Linked DNA regions of Homo sapiens: all the other regions are linked to region 2. The links are contacts of gene promoters, found by promoter capture Hi-C in blood cells and fetal thymus (Javierre and others, 2016). All regions are on one chromosome and are shown on one strand. Each heading gives the region's core, a stretch centred on a gene start or on the middle of the fragment in contact. The rest is flanking DNA. Distances are from core to core; before and after follow the strand shown.

What was found. The method cuts DNA at HindIII sites, captures the fragments that hold promoters and counts their contacts. A CHiCAGO score of 5 or more calls a contact.
Region 1: a fragment that was not itself captured here is called in contact with the fragment with the promoter of CHDH in region 2 in 1 of 17 cell types (M2 macrophages); the score reaches 5.1 in M2 macrophages.
Region 3: a contact is called between a fragment that was not itself captured here and the fragment with the promoter of CHDH in region 2, in 1 of 17 cell types (M2 macrophages). The highest score is 10.3, in M2 macrophages.

The regions. Positions count from the first base shown.
Region 1 is chr3:53,681,245-53,683,944 of GRCh38, reverse strand. The region is part of intron 8 of CACNA1D (calcium voltage-gated channel subunit alpha1 D); the gene reads right to left. Among named protein-coding and RNA genes, the nearest start is that of CHDH, 160 kb to the left of the region's middle. The HindIII fragment of the contact is 1,729 bases long and covers 536-2,264 here.
Region 2 is chr3:53,844,969-53,847,668 of GRCh38, reverse strand. It overlaps CHDH (choline dehydrogenase), which reads left to right and starts at 1,250. Exons shown (of 9, transcript NM_018397.5): 1 at 1,250-1,586. It overlaps IL17RB (interleukin 17 receptor B), which reads right to left and starts at 1,101. Exons shown (of 11, transcript NM_018725.4): 1 at 1,021-1,101. The coding sequence starts at 1,080. RefSeq lists enhancers at 1,053-1,347, 1,294-2,134, 2,135-2,700 and a silencer at 1,053-1,702. The HindIII fragment of the contact is 5,797 bases long and covers 1-2,700 here.
Region 3 is chr3:53,698,133-53,700,832 of GRCh38, reverse strand. The region is part of intron 8 of CACNA1D (calcium voltage-gated channel subunit alpha1 D); the gene reads right to left. Among named protein-coding and RNA genes, the nearest start is that of CHDH, 150 kb to the left of the region's middle. The HindIII fragment of the contact is 1,044 bases long and covers 819-1,862 here.

The sequences.
Region 1 (2,700 bases), core at 151-2,650, 160 kb after region 2:
TTGAGGTTTGTTGGGCCTTTTGGATCTGTTAACTTAGTTTTCAATACTTGCAACATGTTCAGCTTTATTTATCTTAAAATTTTTCTTCCTCAATCTCTTTATTCTCCTGTGACTCCAATTTCATATACACCAGATTGCTTATTGTTGTTTTAGAGATCACTAAGCCCTCATCAACTTTTTCTGCAATGTCCAGTCTACTTTTTTCAGATATTGTACTGTTTCTATTTACCTACTGAGATTTACCTATTCTTTTATTATGTCCATCTTTTCCTTCAGTTCCTTAAACAGGCTCATAGTAGTGACTTCAAAGTCTTTGATTATTAATTGCAACATCTGTCATCTTTTGTTTCTATCGACTTTTCCCTCCTTGATCGTGAATATTTTCCTGCTTCTTTTCATGTCTTATAGTTTTGGGTCATGAGGAAAAACATTCTGGGAACATCTGAGTTTTGGTCTCTTCCTTTAACGAGTGTTGATTTTTGTCTTTTTGACAGGTGTTTAATTTATTGGCCATTTCCCTGATCCTTTTGAAGCTTGTTTCTATGCTTTTTAAGTCAGGTCTACAGTAGGCTTACTCAAGGGCTAAAGTAGCTCCAACCCTAAAGCCTGGCGTTTCTGAAGTCTCAGTACCCAATGTATTCAATTAGGTCCTTCCACTACAGCTGAGCAGAACCATATACCTCCCAGCACGGAGAGATTTCCAACCACTTACAGCATTCTACTAGCTGTTCTCTGCCTGGCTTCAATAAGTATCACCTGGCACAGAAGCAGCTTAGTATATGGTCAGATTTCAAAGAACCTCCACTCTGAGTACTGGAGCCCCTTCTCTGCATACTTCTCACCCATACTCTGCCCTGAAAATCCCAGCTATCTTAGCAGCCCTGAACACTGTTCTTTGACCCCTCAGCAAATAGACCATCGTTCTCTGCTGGGCTCTCCCTCTCTGCCATAATTCTAAAACTGTCTCCAGGCAGAAAGCCAGGACAACTGCGGAGTTTACCTCATGTGTTTCCCTTCTCGTAGGGATTGCAATCCTGTATATCCTATTTCCATTTTCTGAAAATAGTTGCTTCCTATTTTTTGCCCAGTCTTTTGTAGTTGTTTATGGTGAAAGGTCCAGTCTGGTAGCACTAGTATGTTGTGGCTGGAAGCAGATTATATGAGCCTTAAGTTGGTCTCTCTACATCCATTTGTGTATCCATCCAATCTATTCATATTACTGCAGCCACAGTGATTTTCATATGCAGATTTTCCCAACATTTTATTAGGAAGAATTTCAAACATCCATAAAAGTAGAAACAATTATACAATGAACACCCATATGCCTACCTCACCTAGATTCCATAATTAACACCTGCTACCTTTTCTTCTTCTTCTTTTTTTTTTTTAAGACAGGGTCTCACTCTGCTCCCCAGGCTGGAGTGCAGAAGCATGATCATAGCTCACTGCAACCTCAAACTCCTAGGCTCAAGCGATCCTCCTGTCTCAGCCTCCTGAGTAGCTGGGACTATAGGCACACACCACATTGCCCAGCTAAAAAGACTTCTGTTTTTTTTTTTTTTTTTTTTTTTTTTTTTTTACCAGAGACAAAGCCTCGCTATGTCGCCCAGGCTGGTTTCAAACTCCCGGCCTCAAGCAACCCTTCCACCTCACCCTTCTGAATTGCTCGGATTACAGGTGCAAGCCACAGCACCCAGCTGCTACATTTTCTTTATCACCTATCTCTGCATCCCCCTATCCATCTATTAATCATCTTATCTTTTTGAAGCATTTTAAGGTAAGTTGAGGATATGAGAATACAGCATAATTTTTAGAAAATGTAAATTTGAATATCACTCCCTGCTTAAAATTCATCCATGCATTCTCTTACCCTTCAGCTAATGACCAAAACCTGTGACATAGTCTAAAGGTCCTACGTGACCTGGATTCTGCCGGCCAGTCTCTTTCCTTTCATCTGACTTCATCTCCAGCTCTCCCAGTTCCTGTCACCCTAGCTTCATTCAGTTCCTCCAGCATCCTCTGCTCCTTCCTACTGTACCTCCTTTCTGTGGGTTTTCCCTTGACTAGAATACCCTTGCCCTAGCTTCTTGTCCCACCTTGCCTGGATATGTGGACTACTCATTCTTCACTTCCAGGATGCTCCTACCCAATAAACTGACAGCAGTTGTGCCTGTTAAACCCTCTCACAGCACATGAACCTTTCTTTCAAAGCATTTATACGAGTTTGTAATTGTCATTTTGGCCTCCATCATTAGATATAAGCTTCACGAAGAAAGAAACCATTTCATTCCACACTGTCACTGCAGTGCCTACACGGTGCCTACATCCCACCACCGTAACCCTGGTGCCTACATCCCACCACTGTAATCCTGGTGCCTACCCAGTGCCTACATTCCACCACTGTAACCCCAGTGCCTAGCAGGGCACTTGGCATACATCTACCACTGTGTAGGAACTGAAAAAAAATTCATTAAATGAATAAGTCATTCTTAGGAAGTTAAGAGAGAGGGAGAAAAAAGGATCCAGCAGGATTTTCTGCTTCTTATTCGTCTGTTATATCAAATTCAACTGCCTGCAGGCCAAGCACAGTTGCCCTATTTCCAGAGAGCTGTGGAACAATGTCATCCGGAAAGCCCTCCAAAGACAAAACTCCATGGTTCTCCAATGCTCTTCTAGCAGCCGATCTAAGTTCTCATAAGA
Region 2 (2,700 bases), core at 1-2,500:
GCGCCTGCCACCATGCCCGGCTACTTTTTGTATTTTTAGTAGAGACGGGGTTTCACCATGTTAGCCAGGCTGTTCCCAAACTCCTGACCTCAGGCAATCCGGCCGCCTCAGCCTCCCAAAGTGCTGGGATTACAGGCGTGAGCCACCGAGCCCGGCCAGACTTGACTTTTTTTTTTTTTTTTTAACAAATGAGCCATCATACCAGGAGCTGAGTTCTTATCAAACGGCCGGTGAGAGGCCAAGCAACAACCCTAAATGCTACCAAGCTCAAATTGTTGGCCTTGCAGCAACTACAGCAAAAGGGATGAATTCTTCCCTTTAGTGCAAAGAGCCAAGAGGGCTTCTGAACTGACACAGAGGGGAAGGATAGGAGCTGAAGACATCAGGAAACAGTGAATGGGGTTTGTCCACCAGCAGGTGACTACGGAGCTTGATGCTATATGCTATTCTAAGAGGGCAGCGGTATCATTTCAAAGGTTATTTGGGGGATGAGCTATTTTCTCTTCAGTGACCCAGAAGATTCCCTCGATCATTCAGGGTACTGGGGAAGAAAGGCAACTGCCTTCACGAGTGAACATGGCAATCAATATGGCCAAAAAGGGAGGGGGTACTAATGGAGAAACAGTTCTTGTGCCCCAACAGGTGAGCAGACCCCAAGTAACAATAACTACGTGCCAGGCCCTTCGCCGCTAATTGCAGGCCATGTCGTTATACCTTAAGAGACCCTGGTGGGTTCGGTACTGCCCTTCGTTTTACCGTTCGGGACTTGGAACTTGGTGAGCATAAATGACAGAACCAACAGTACAGGGTGGCATCTGAGACCGGGTCTGTCTGATTCCCACGCCCCTGACTCAAGCAACCTGACGCCGATGTCCGGGGCTGCCCTGAGGGTGCAGGCATGCCCCTTGAGCCGGCAGTCCGCGCACGCCTTCGGGGCAGCCTGGACTGGCGGATCAGACGACGTCAGGATCTGGGCTCGAGGGCCGGGAGATGAGGGAAGAGGTGCTGGCGGGGGCTTACCGGCTCTCGGGGTACGGCGCTCCTGCACAGCGCGGCCAGGCTTAGCAGCACGAGCGACATCGCCGGGCCACTGCGCGGGATCCAGGCCACCCGCACGCTGCGCTTTTATCCCGGCGCCGCCGGGCCGCCCCTTCTCGGCTCCGCCTCTCGCAGCGCCGACCCATTCCCGCCACCCGAACAGAGGGCGGGCCCGCTGGCCCCCTCCCAGGCTGGGGCAGGTCGCAGCGCCCTCGCCTGCTGGGGCTCGGAGGGATGGGCCGTGTCCGAGCGCTGGCGGAGCACGGGCCGCCGCGGCGCGCGCCTACCCCCGCGCACACGTGCATGCAGTGAGCCAGGTGCATCAGCTGCACCCGCCCTCGGGCTTCGCGCGCCTCCGCTGGAGCCCAGCTAGCCTCGCGGCTCCGGGGCCGACCGGGTCGGAACTGCTGCGTCCCCATTCCGGACGCAGAGAGCGCGCGGGGCGCCGGCGCCGCCGGTTAAAGTGCCGCGGGGCAGGGGCCGGGCCGCGGCCACCCGCTCCTCCCGCTCCGGTCCCGACTGTCGGGCTCTCGGCCGAGTCGCCCCGGGTGAGTAGCCGCGGAGGCGCCCCGACCACCCCGCAGCAGCGCCGCCCGGCCGCTAGCCCGGAGAGGCCTGGGGGCCGGAGGTTTGGGGCCGGGCTGGACGCCGAGACCCGGGCCCGCTTTACACAATCGCCCCGCCGCGCGAAGCGAAACGGGTGGAACGCAGACTGCCGAAGCTCACTGACTCCTTTGAGGGAGCGAATTCTTTCAGCTACGCGGGGTTAGAGCGGTAGGAGTGCCCGCTGCCCGACCCCAGGCTTTCTGGTAAATGTCTGTTTCCACCAAGTGAGTTCGGACAGCAACACCTGGGGCTCCCAAAGCGGAAGCCGTCAGCACTGGCGATTTGGAGCTGCGGTTCTCAAGTTTCCCTGGCCCGGGATCTCTAGCGCCGCCTAAAATGAGATCCAGACGGCAGGTCCGGGTCAGGCCCGGGATCTGCATTTAACGAGCCTCCACCCACGCCCCCGTAATTCGTGGGTGGGTGGCCCAGGGACCATCCTTTGAGACACAGTGGGTTTGGGGGAAAGTTCACAAAAATCAGCTGGGCTAACAGTGGAGTCACAGAGGCTGGAACTGCTGCTTCAGCCCCCTCGGTTTGCAAACGACAGGGTTGTGGTGACCAACTCAGGGCCATTTAAACTTGTAGGCAGAATTAGCTCCATTCTACAGATGAGAAGACGGAGGCCTAGAGAGGGGTATGGAACTTAGGGGTGTGTTGTCAGCTGGTGAGAGGCTGTACTAAGTCAAGCAGCTGTTTTAGCTGAGGCCCTACTTGTGTGCCAGGCCTGGCCCACCTGCCAGCTTGATTAAGGCTTGCATGGACTGGGGATCAGCCAGGGGTTTGGGCTCTGGCATGCATACGTGTGGAGTTGCAGGTAGCATTTTCAGAGAATTGCTCTGTTTCCTGACCAAGGAACTCAGTTGAGGTTGTGGCCGCACCCCTGCCTGGGACTGGGCCACCCTGAGCCCCTCATTCCACCTCTCTGAGTTGCTTTGGGCCCTGTGGCCCTTGAGAACATTTTCAGCTCTAATAGTCATCTTCCTGTTCAGCAAATACCTGCTGGGTGCAAAGGTGAACCACACATGGGTGCTGGCTGATGGGTACTCCTGGAGTGAG
Region 3 (2,700 bases), core at 91-2,590, 150 kb after region 2:
ATCCCTCTCATAGCTTCTAAATCACCCCACTTTCCAGACTCCCTGGAACCTATCCTTGGTCCTGTTAGGGCTGTCAGTCTCCACTCCACCCCCTGTGAATAAGGAAGGAGGCCAGGCTTTGTGGATCTAGAGAGTGAGCAGGAGCCGATCTGAGCCCAGACACGTGCTCTGACCTCCCAGCCCAAAGAACACCTGCTGTCTCAAAGAAGTAAGGACTCCAGTGTCTCGCCATTCACATGTACCACACCCTGAGAATGGTTTGGGGTTTCTAGGCCTCCGGGGTTTCCTGACACATGGGAAATACATAACTCAGCTCTAGGTAAATTCACCAAATGATTCTCTGAACTCTGAAAAAATCACAACTCAATCCAGAATCACATCCCTGAGCAACAGTAAGAGGGCTTGGCATGTCATGTATCTGCAGGAAAATGAATTATATAATCTGTTTTCTTAAATACATCTCAAAGAAAAGTGGACCTTCAGTTCTATTATTCACCAGAAAAGTATCCTAGTACAAATCTGTTTGCATGTTTTGATTCCGAACTTAGAATACTAAATTCAGATGGTTACATACAAACAAGGTATTCTTACTTTGGGTCCATATCATATATGGGTTCTTGGGAAAAAAATTATGAAGATAGTAAAAGAGTTACCCTGAGAAGCTTAAGGACATTCATTTTATAATGCATAATTACATACATTATATACATTTTATAATGTATTATAATTATATAATTATATTTTATTTTTAAATTATATAATTATATACATTTTATAATGTATAATTACATACATTATAAAATGAACGTCCTTAAGCTTCTCAGGGTAACTCTTTTACTATCTTCCTAATTTTCTTTTGTAATATTTTATGCCTTTTTAACATTACAAATATAAAAATCCCATTTCTAACAAGCTGCATCACTGTTGTACATTTTCCACTGCTGGGACACAGGTAAGCAGGCATAAGTAAAACTCTACTCTGACTAAAATTCCTAGGAGTAAAAAACCCTGCCAAGTCCTGGTTTATGGCCCACTCACAATGATGGTCACTATCACAAAAGCTCATATAACAAAGCTGCTGATATAGACCCTCTGAACTGATTTTAGACAGTTCTGAATGGCTGAATATTTAGCAGGAAGGTATTATTTATTGATGTGGACAGAGGTGAGGTTTATACAGTAGAAATCTGTTGGCCACAGGGCAGGATGGAGGAAGGGGGCAGGGAGGTAGAGTCCCTGTGATAAACCCAGATAAATCCTTGGCCCTCCTACACCACTCTGGGCTCTTCGTCTGAAGACCTGGCTTCTAGTCCTAGCTCTGTCACTGCTGTGTTCTGAGCTTCAGTTTCCTCACTTCCAAACAGACACAACAATACCTGTTCCGCTGTTTCACAGGAATTAAGCAAGACATTCAGTAAGGCTTTGAAAACACAAAGAGTGGTATCAACGTGAAGTTCAAATGTATAATAGTTGTTGAATCCAGACATAAGAGAGACATTCAAAAGGCAAATGGAAGAGCTTTCTCAAATTATCAAAGGGAGAAAAATTAGCACTAGCTGTGAATGGGCTCTAAGCTGCCACAAACCCGTTAGGATTGGGAGACACATAGAAGGACACATGGGTCCCAAGGCTCAGAGTGATCGCAATGAGCTGGCAAACCCACTGCCAATCCTGTACACTATCTGCTCAGTTGAGAATAACCCATTCCCATCACAACTGACCCTCTGATCCTGAAAATCACACCTCAAGTCCGAGGCACCTTCTATCAAACTTTGCAATGATGGGAAAAAAGTTACTCCACTTTGCATAAGAATTCATCATATTCTAAGAATCCTATTACTAAGAGATTGTTTTACAAAGCTTATTTAATAAAGCTATTGGTAGAAACCAACAGACTTTTGCAAGTGACTAAAAATCCAACAACTGTTATATGCTAGGAGTCTTCTTGTTCCAAACCAGAATTTTGGTTATGGTGTGTCTGATCAAAAGATAAATAAGAAGTGCCTGGATGAAAAAAAAAAAAAAAGCAATAAAGTGTGCTACCCTTTACACACGAAAAACTGGGAAATAAAAGGAGCATATTTCTCTCAGGTGTATCTAAAAGAAAGAGCAGAAAACAAGGGATGGGAATGAATTAGGCCAAAGGAATCAAGGTTGGAGTGACACTCTTAAGTATACCTTTTTCTATAGTTTTGACTTTGGGAACCATGTTAATGTTCTTCACCTTAAATTTTTAAAAATTAAGTCAGTAAGGATGAGATGAAGGGAAAATACCCCTAAACTGAAAGTGATTTGAAACAAACAAATCTGTAATTCAAATGAATACCATAACCAGACTGAAGGAGAAAGACAAAACTAATTCAAATAGCTCATGAATATTTGACGACATACTCTCAGTCTTGGGTAGGATTGGAGTGAGGGATGAACTACAAACAAATGCTGAACTCTTTTCAGTAGCTTTGTTTTTTGCAGTGATGTGGATGAGACCATTCTGAAACTATCTTAGACATATTACAGGATTTAGCCAGTGAGTACATGTGCTAATGCTGCTGGGAGCCAGAGTTCTCGCTGTGGAAGGAGGGACACAGAAACACGGAACAGAGAAGAACCCTCTGGGGACAGGCTGGAATTGAAGGTATAGGTGTGAACTGATGATTTCTAAAAGATGTTTATTTTAAAGTCTGATTTCCAATGTCTGAT